3 separate regions of the Homo sapiens genome follow, and regions 1 and 2 are each linked to region 3. The links are contacts of gene promoters, found by promoter capture Hi-C in blood cells and fetal thymus (Javierre and others, 2016). All regions are on one chromosome and are shown on one strand. The core of a region is centred on a gene start or on the middle of the fragment in contact, and the rest is flanking DNA. Distances in the headings are between cores, read along the strand shown.

Region 1 (3,111 bases), core at 137-2,636, 380 kb after region 3:
GGGCAAGGCATATAATCCTTGTAAAGGGGTCTTAACACAGTATTACCTGTGTCCCTTTGATATGCTGTGGGAAGGAGTGGGAGCTGGCAGGTGGGCTGTAAGGCAGAATGTGAGGCAGGGGATGCTTATTTCTGGAGGCATGGCTCCATGGTGGCACGGAGACCAATTAGCATCTTAAATCCCCATGATTGATTACCTGTAGATTAGGGTTTGGTGTTGGTGGGAAGTGAAAATTGTGGTCGGCTGACAGCCTGCATGTTTATTCATTCGGTCAGTCAACACGAACTTATTCAGTGCCTATCAAGCGCCAGACACTGTTTTAGGTACTGGAGATACAGTAGTGATAAGTTCCCATTTTCACGGAGCTGACATCCTAGTGGAAGCCATGGACTATAAAGAAATCGTTCTGTATTGCTAAAAGCTATGAAGTAAAATGAAGCTCTGTGGGTTAGAGTGATACCAAACTGAGGTATGATGCAAAGAGAAGAAATATTATTATTAATTTTTTTTTTTGAGATGGAGTCTCGCTCTGTCGCCCAGGCTGGAGTGCAGTGGTCCGATCTTGGCTCACTGCAACCTCCACCTCCTGGTTTCAAGCGATTCTCCTGCCTCAGCCTCCCCAGGTAGCTGGGATTACATGTGCACACCACCACGCCCAGCTAATTTTTGTATTTTTAGTAGAGACGGGGTTTCACCATGTTGGCCAGGCTGGTCTCAAACTCCTGACCTCAGGTGATCCACCTGCCTTGGCCTCCCAAAGTGCTGGGATTACAGGCGTGAGCCACTGTGCCTGGCCTCGAGAAGAAATATTCTTTGTTAAAATGAAGAGGATATTGAGGGAAGAAATTGAAATACCACATTAGCACCGTAGCCACAGAAAGGAGACAGCAGGATGACATTATTTTAAAGGCCAGTTTTCTGTTCAGTGGGTTACAAATATGTCTCCTTCATAAGGGGATAGAGTCGTCTGGGGGCAGTGAGCAAAATTACTAGAATTCCCAGCTGGTTGGATTGGCCGATGTAGCAAAGTTGATGGTTCCAGCCAAAGTTGAATTTCCTAAGATCTGAAGAAAAACACACATTTTAATATTGGTGGGTGGGTATGACTCTGCCTGCATCCCTGCATGTATGAACTCATTCTTGTTCTCTCTTTTTTAATGAGAAATATTTTCTCAGCTGTAGCAAAAACCTACAGCGTTGGTGTGAGGGGTTGAGAGAAAGGCTGCTAGTTTCTGCTGTTCCTAAATTTACATACATACTGCCACAATTGTAGGTCCCACACCTGACCTAGTTTTATTCATTTGGTTTTCTTCCAGTACCTAATTTCCTTAACCTAGATGTGGATCTGTTTAATTTCCCCAACATACACATATGCTTGTTTGTTTAGTTACATTTCTAATTCTTGGAGGATGAATCTGTCATTTGAATCTTAAGACGTGGTAAAAATTGCTGCTAAAAAGCATCTATTTGCAAAGCAGTGCTTTAAATGTTCTTTCTTGTTCTGGTTTGCCTGAATGCGTCTGTGAATGAACCACTGTTCCTCAGAAAGAAAATGGATGTTGAGGCCTGAGATCTCATTGACACAAGGATGGACGCTAACTTTGACACCCAGTTTTTTCAGCAAAGTATGACATATTTCCTTGATGTGGCTGTTTGGGTCCATCTTCAATCCATCGTTCTTCAGGTGTTTGTAATAGACACTTATCTCTTCTATTTCTGCCCAACTTTACTGTGATCACAGGAGTCAGAATTAAGGTGGGCAGAGCTCTGGGCTGGGTGTCAAGAATGCACTTGACAGCTCTTTATTTGTGACAAGTTCCTGCCCTCCTTGTGCCTTACTTTCCCTGTCGGGCTTGCTGGTGGTTCTTAGTTGAAGCATTTTAATCTCCATGGGAGGAAAGGTACAGTATGTTCTTCAATAATTCAGTACTTTTCCATCTGTCTGGGTTGGAGAGGTACACATGTACCTTGCCCCTGTTTTAGTCCCATCCCTCCATCCCCTCCTCTGTCACCTTTCATGTTGACCTCTGCTGGGCAGAGGTGGACAGAGTCTCTCACTAAATTACAGATGTAGGTGCTGTTTCATAAGGGGTGCATGAACCACTTGAAAAGCCCCGAAGGAAGTGATAAATTACTAAAGGGATGAGAAAAAGCTCGACGTGGGGTGGTGGGCGGGGGGGTGGGGATGAGAGAGGTGAGGGCAGAGGGAGACATGTAAAAAAGATTGAGGTTGAGCCTAAAGGGAAGGGCGGCTGGATGCTATCAGGAGTCTACCTGGCTCTAATCAACAGGACAGCTGTTTATCATTGCTGCTGAGGAGGAACAAAGGAAATGGGTTGAAGCAGAATTTAGATCAGGAAGAGGGTTCCTAAAATTAGTGAAATTGACCCTGGAGCAGGGTAATAGGAGAGCCTTCCTCTTAGGGACTATTAAAAGTTCCTAACAGGGACTCTTCATGGTGATGTTTGCATCCAAGATAAGAGCTAAACTGGTTTAGTTGTATCCTGTTCAGAAGCAGAGGAGTGAAATCCCAGAGCAAAGAAACACGATCTGGGGTGTATGAATCTGAACACAATTGTTCAAAGGCAAGGATTTCCCAAGTCCAAATTTGGCACAAATGAAAAAGAACTTGGGTGCTGGGTGGAACTGGTTTTTTTCCATTGTTGACCTGGCAGAACTTTCTTATCTGAGCAGCTGAGCAGGTTTGATGCTTTTATGAAGCAAGATAGAAGCAAAAATATGGGCCAGCATGAGGGTGATGATCACAGAAAAACAAAAGGTGTGGTATTTGTGGAAATAGTACTATGCCTAATGGAATCAGAGAGGAGACGGGAGGGAGGGAAAGAGAGAGGACTGGGCAGTTGTTAGCAGCTACACATACAAGTGGCTTCAGCTGCCAAATAATTCAGAATACTTCATATGCCCTTTAGGTGCCCTGTGAAAAAGAAACTGAAGTGGATAAAGACAACCTGACTGGCTGGAGGCTTGAGTCCTAGTAATAATGTACTTTCCATTGGAAAAACTTACTCTATTCTGAGAAAATAAATTGATCTCTGTTCCTCCCCAGCACTTCCTGGTTAGAAATACCAGAATGAATTTGCTGTGATTACC
Region 2 (3,076 bases), core at 263-2,762, 270 kb after region 3:
CATGCTGATAAATATCTAGGCCCTACAGGAGTTCGTGTCCATGAACCCAGTAAACGCAATTCCTCAGCCTTAAAATCTAGTCACTGACTCATTTCAGGCCCCAGCACAGACGAAAACAAGCCATTCTGTTTGCCCAGTTTACATTGCGGGTCTCCAAGAAGTGGAATGTTCACCAATGATTTTAAGAAAACAGGGCCTGGCGCGGTGGCTCACGCCTGTAATCCCAGCACTTTGGGAGGCCGAGGCAGGCAGATCACCTGAGGTTGGGAGTTTGAGATCAGCCTGACCAACATGGAGAAACCCCATTTCTACTAAAAATACAAAATTAGCCGGGTGTGGTGGTGCATGCTTGTAATCCCAGCTACTCAGGAGGCTGAGGCAGAATTGCCTGAAGCTGGGAGGCGGAGGTTGCAGTGAGCCAGAGATCGTGCCATTACATTCCAGCCTGGGCAACAAGAGCAAAACTCTGTCTCAAAATAATAATAATAATAATAATAATTAAAAAAAAAAAAACAGTACGAGTGTGAAGATCGGAAGGTGGAGGTGAGGGAGGTGAGAGGTCTTGGGCCTGCCCACATTCTTCCTAAGCTATTTTGGCTGGCCCAGGCTGGGAGGCCAGGAATTGCTTTTCCTCTTCAAAAGAAAAGGGGACAAAAAATTAGCTGGGCGTGGTAGCACTCATCTGTAGTCCCAGCTACTCAGGAGGCTGAGGCAGAAGAATTGCTTGAACCGGGGAGGCAGAGGTTGCAGTAAGCTGAGATTGTGCTGCTGCCCTCCAGCCTGGGTGACAGAGCGAGACTCGGTCTCAAAAAAAAAAAAAAAAAAAATGGGGAGGAGGACAGGGCATGGTGGTTCATGCCTATAATTCCAGCATTTTGGGAGGCCAAGGCAGGCAGATCACTTGAGGCCAGGAGTTCGAGACCAACCTGGGCAACACAGTGAAACCCTTTCTCTACTAAAACTACAAAAAATTACCTGGGCATGGCAGCACATGCCTGTAATTTCAGCTACTCGGGAGGCTGAGGCATGAGAATCACTTGAACCTGAGAGGGGGAGGTTGCAGTGAGCCAAGATGGCACCACTGCACTCCAGCCTGGGCAACAGCGTGAGACTCTGTCTCAAAAAAAAAAAAAAAAAAAAAAAATGGCTGGGACACCGTGACTCATGCCTGTAATTCCAGCACTTTGGGAGGCAGAGGCAGGAGGATCCCTGTGAGGCCAGGAGTTCAAGACCAGCCTGGGCAACATAGTGAGACCCAGTCTCTATAAAAAAATTAAAAATTAGCCAGGCGTGGTGGTGTATTCCTGTAGTCCCAGGTACCGGGGAGGTTGAGGTGGGAGGATCCCTTGAGCCCAGGACTTCGAGGCTGCAGTGAGCTATGATCACGCCACTGCACTCCAGCCTTGGCGACAGAGCAACACCCATCTCTTAAATATTATTTATTATAAGGCTTTTGGGCTGGGTGCTGTGGCTCACGCCTGTAATCCCAGCACTTTGGGAGGCCGAGGCGGGCGGATCACGAGGTCAGGAGATTAACACCATCCTGGCTAACACGGTGAAACCCTGTCTCTACTAAAAATACAAAAAATTAGCCGGGTGTGGTGGCATGCGCCTCTAGTCCCAGCTACTCAGTAGGCTGAGGCAGGAGTATGGCGTGAACCTGGGAGTCGGAGCTTGCAGTGAGCCGAGATCGCACCACTGCACTCCAGCCTGGGCAACAGAGCGAGACTCCGTCTCAAAAAAAAAAAAAAAAAGACTTTTGATTGGGTTAGACCTCACCAGTTAGAGATGCTCCTTTAGTTATCTGAGGCTGCTGAGTGGGGTAATCCTAGACCTGGATGCTAGTTTGAAGAAAGCAAGTCTCAGTGCTGGAAGGGGTCATTCAAGGTCATCCATGAGCTTCTGCTGAGCCAGGTGCTATAGGTGGGCTAGGTGGGACAGGAGACAGGTCAGCATCCAGGGTCCTTGAAGGGACCATGTCCTTAAGAAGAGGTAGGATGCCTCCAATGCAGTGGTCCACTGCACGGTGTGGCTGAGACTGCTACAGAGGACACATGGGAAGACCTGCCAGGGTTGGGGGTGGGGGAGGAGCAAGGGCGTCATCCTGGAAGTCACCCCCAAATAGGGCCAAGAAAGATCAGAGAGACAGCAAAGCTCTAATACCACCCTCTGCAAACCCCACCTATGGCGACCTCTCACCTCCTGTCTCCTATTCTCAAACTGGCCTATGCCTAAGGGCCAACCCAGAGACACTTCCACACTGGTCCCTGTCACACGAGACACGCTGGAAGATGGGAATGGCCAACCTCCAGACACACACACATCCAGGCTCCTATCCCCAGAGTGCGTGTTCTCATCCTACTGCATCTCGGAGGCTGGCAGGGTGAATCCCCCAGCAGGTCAGGTAGGTCTGAGGTGTCTCAGCCTGAACTCATGACTCCAAACCACCTTCACGCCTTCGTCCCAACCCAGAAGGAAGAGATCCAGGGAGGAGGGCACACATCGGGCTGCAGGCCAACACACTGACCCTGAGCCTGGCCTCCCCAGCATCAGGCTGAGGAACAGGAGGGTTGAGATGAGCCCCATTAGGTATGTGTGAAGTCTCTGGGACATGGGATGATGCCAGCTGCTGGGATGCAGAAAAGTTGGAGGCAGGGGACAGAGTCTCATTCAAAAGAATTTGTCCATAATCCAAGCTGGGTGTTGTGGCTCACGCCTATAATCCCAGCACTTTGGGAGGCCCAAGCAGATGGATCACTTGAGGTCAGGAGTTCAAGACCAGCCTGGCCAACATGCTGAAACCCCGTCTCTACTAAAAATATAAAAATTACCCGTATGTGGTAGCCCAGGCCTGTAATCCCAGTTACTTGGGAGGCTGAGGTGGGAGGATTGCTTGAACCCAGGAGGTGGAGGTTGCAGTGAGCCCAGATCATGCCACTGCACACCAGCCTGGGCAACAAAGCGAGCAAAGCGAGACTCCATTTCAAAAAAAAAAAAAAAAAATTTTAGCTGCGTGTGCTGGCACATGCCTGCAAATCCCAGCTACTCCGGAGGCTGAGGCATGAGAATCACTTGA
Region 3 (3,110 bases), core at 13-2,512:
AGCTGAGACCTCCTTCAGGGAAGGGGAGTGGCTGGGGATGTTGTCTATACCCAGACTCTCCTAGGTGGCCCCACAACTACTGTCTCTGCTCTATCACTTTCTTATCTCCAGTTCCTCCCGCTCCCCACCTACAGTTGTCCCTGAGCCTTGGGGATTTATAAGGGAAGGAGAGAAAAAGCCCCAGCTCGTGAATGAAACAGCCAGCAAGAGAGAGAGAGATCAGATCAATCAGCTCATTAACACAGTCAGGTCAGACCATGGTCGGGAACCTGGTTTCCTCCAGAGCCCCTCTGGCTGTCACAGATGGGGATAAAGAGCCCTATCCCAGGACCAGGAAGGGAAGCCATACAGTGGGAATGAGGATCAGACAGGACACAGGTGTATGAACCCAGGCAGGAGGAAGGGAGGTTGGACTTCCAGGAGTGGCATTGCAATGGGTAAGAGCCATTGGGTTATAAATTCCCGCGCCTCTTTTTTCTCTGTCTCAGCACGGGGCAGACCCCCATGTATGACAGGGGCTGGGGGAGACGTGTGGCTACTTATAAAGCCCAGATCCCTGGACTTACCCACCATTCCACTTTCCAACCTTATCAGTGCACCCGGAGGAGACTGAAAGGGTGGGGCTGGAGAGGGAGACAGAAAGAGAGAGAGACACACACACACACACACACACACACAGAGAAACAGAGAGAGAGAGACAGAGGGACAGAGAGACTATGACACAAAGATAAGGAGAAAGGCGCAAACACTAACTGCAGAGTTCCTTCTGAAGCCCGAGCTTCCTAATCAACCGGGAGTCCAGCCCCGCCCCTTCAGATTACAACTCGCGATCAGGGACCACGGCCCCTCCAACAAGCCCCGACAGCTCCCTGCTCCGATGAGCCAGGGGTAACCCCAAGCAGAGAGAAGCCACACTTTTACTCCCGGAGACCTGCCCTCTCTGGCATCACTCCCCAATTCCCTCCCTGATCACAGCCCCTGGGGTCTAGCCGCGTCTCCCCTATCCAGAGTTCTTCATTTCCTTCCATCCATCTCTCCCTTCCCATGATTGGAGATCCCAGCCCTCTGTCCCCTCCAGCTTTGGTGACTGCCCAGTTGCCCCCGCTGGGGTTCCATGAACCCCTCATGTCTCCTCCCATAAATTAGAGGGTCCCTCCACTGGTCCTATCCTTGGTTTCACTTCCCACTCACCAGGCCACAAGGGGAGCAGCAAGGGAAATCGGGCCGGGCCCTCCCGCCCATCCCAGCCACCGCCCGACTCTTGGCTCAGCTCAACTTTCCCCAAGAACTTTCTCAGCGCCCAGGCTCCTCCCTCCTCCCTTTGTGCCGCCAGCCCCAGCAGCTGCTGCAGCTTTGATCGCGGTTCTAGGTCTCTCCCTCGCTGCATCTTCCCCTCTTCGGCAGGGCACCCAGACTCCTCTTGGAAGACACCACTTCCGCCCCCGCTTTCACACTTGGGAATCAATCCTACCATTTTCTCTTGGCTTGCCGCAGAACAAAAGATTCATTCAGGCGGTGGAAAGAAAGAAGGAAGGAAGGAGAAAGTGATATTTGAAAGCAGACATTGTCAAGGACGTGGCAAGGTAGCCAGAGACTGACACTCAGAGAACAAGGCCTCCCATCCTGAAGGCAGGGGGCAGTGGTGTGGTCACCTTAATAATGCTTCGTGGCCGGGTGCGGTGGCTCACGCCTGTAATCCCAGCACTTTGGGAGGCTAAGGCTGGTGGATCGCTTGAGGTCAGGAGTTTGCGATCAGCCTGGCCAACATGGTGAAACCCCGTCTCTACTAAAAATACAAAAATTAGCTGACTGTGGTGGCAGGCGCCTGTAATCCCAGCTACTCAGGAGGCTGAGGCAGGAGAATCATTTGAACTGGGGAGGCGGAGGTTGCAGTGAACTGAGATCGCGCCATTGCACTCCAGCCTCGCGACAACAGCGAGACTCTATCTCAAAAAAAAAAAAAAAAAAGCCTCATGTTCAAAGAGCATTTTGCAGGTGACAAGGTGCTTTTTCACACAGATTCTATTTGGTCCCCACAATTCTCCCTGTTGTACAAACGAAGATGCTCAGAGGCCCAGAGGGTGGGCAATTTGGAGATCAGAGGTTATTGTCTAGGCCCGCCTCCTGGGGGACAGGTGCCAAGGGAAGTGAAAAGCCGGCAGAAAATGAGCCAGTCACAGAGGCTCTGAGACCTCTGCTAGGAGCCAGGGCTCAGGCACTGATGGTGACAGCACAGAAGCCACACATGGGGTCCAATACATTACCATTTATTTGCAGAATAAACATGGACTCAAACACTGAAACATGGAGTTTGTGAAGGATGTGGGTGGCAGAGGTCACGAGATGAGCACCCCCCCACCTTGTTTTTTTTAAAATTTGGTTTAAGAAATTGATACTGAAAAAACTCAACAGAACCCAGGCCCATGAAGTCTCACATCCTACTCAAGCACCCTCAGTCCCCTGCCCTGCATCCAGCTGGTCCATTTCTGAGACCAGATGCCCCCACCCCTCCCCACTTCCAACTTCCTTCAAACCCCTTCCCCAGCTGCAACTCTAAACTCCTCATTTTCTCTGTTGGGGCTGATCACCAGCCCCAGCCTTAGAGGGCTAGAGACTATACCTTCTAAGGAAACCACACTCCCTCCTAAATAAATACCCCCAGGCCCCCCTCCCATTACCAAATGAAAAAATAAATATTGTGAACACCCACCCACCTCTGATGAAAATCTCCTGGATTTGGGGCCCCAGCCATTCACCTGCAAAGTCCCTTCTCTACCCTCTCTGCAGCCCCCTTCGACTCCTCCCCAGGCCCAGCTGAGGGGGGAGGAGGGGAAAGGGCCATGAACCCTTCTGATGCTAGGGCACCCCTCCCCCGTTATCGAGGTCCAAGCAGGGCCAGGGCTGAGAGGGAGAGAATGAGGATGGTTTGGGTGTGAAAACCAATAGATGCCCCCCCACTCCTGCTCCGGCCCTGGTTGTAGCGGGCACTGCCACCTCCTCCTTTGCCCCCAGAACCATCCCTTCTAGGAGGGTATGGAGGCCGAGGAGGCCGGGCTGGGGGAGCCACAGCCCCAGCCATCCAGTCATCTGCATACTGCTGTCCCCCTCCA

Evidence for each region. The method cuts DNA at HindIII sites, captures the fragments that hold promoters and counts their contacts. A CHiCAGO score of 5 or more calls a contact.
Region 1: a fragment that was not itself captured here is called in contact with the fragment with the promoter of GAL3ST4 in region 3 in 3 of 17 cell types (activated CD4 T cells, total CD4 T cells and naive CD8 T cells); the score reaches 7.4 in activated CD4 T cells.
Region 2: a fragment that was not itself captured here is called in contact with the fragment with the promoter of GAL3ST4 in region 3 in 11 of 17 cell types (activated CD4 T cells, total B cells, naive B cells and 8 more); the score reaches 9.2 in activated CD4 T cells.

What each region holds. Positions count from the first base shown.
Region 1 is chr7:100,542,569-100,545,679 of GRCh38, forward strand. The region is part of intron 1 of AGFG2 (ArfGAP with FG repeats 2); the gene reads left to right. LOC124901708 (a long non-coding RNA gene) reads right to left here. Exons shown (of 2, transcript XR_007060453.1): 2 at 899-1,064. Among named protein-coding and RNA genes, the nearest start is that of AGFG2, 4.9 kb to the left of the region's middle. The HindIII fragment of the contact is 5,846 bases long and covers 1-3,111 here.
Region 2 is chr7:100,439,803-100,442,878 of GRCh38, forward strand. It overlaps PPP1R35-AS1 (PPP1R35 antisense RNA 1), which reads left to right. Exons shown (of 3, transcript NR_187540.1): 3 at 1-75. Among named protein-coding and RNA genes, the nearest start is that of PPP1R35-AS1, 4.7 kb to the left of the region's middle. The HindIII fragment of the contact is 6,057 bases long and covers 1-3,076 here.
Region 3 is chr7:100,167,355-100,170,464 of GRCh38, forward strand. It overlaps GAL3ST4 (galactose-3-O-sulfotransferase 4), which reads right to left and starts at 1,263. Exons shown (of 4, transcript NM_024637.5): 1 at 1,192-1,263. GPC2 (glypican 2) reads right to left here. Exons shown (of 10, transcript NM_152742.3): 10 at 2,252-3,110. The coding sequence ends at 2,876. The HindIII fragment of the contact is 24,826 bases long and covers 1-3,110 here.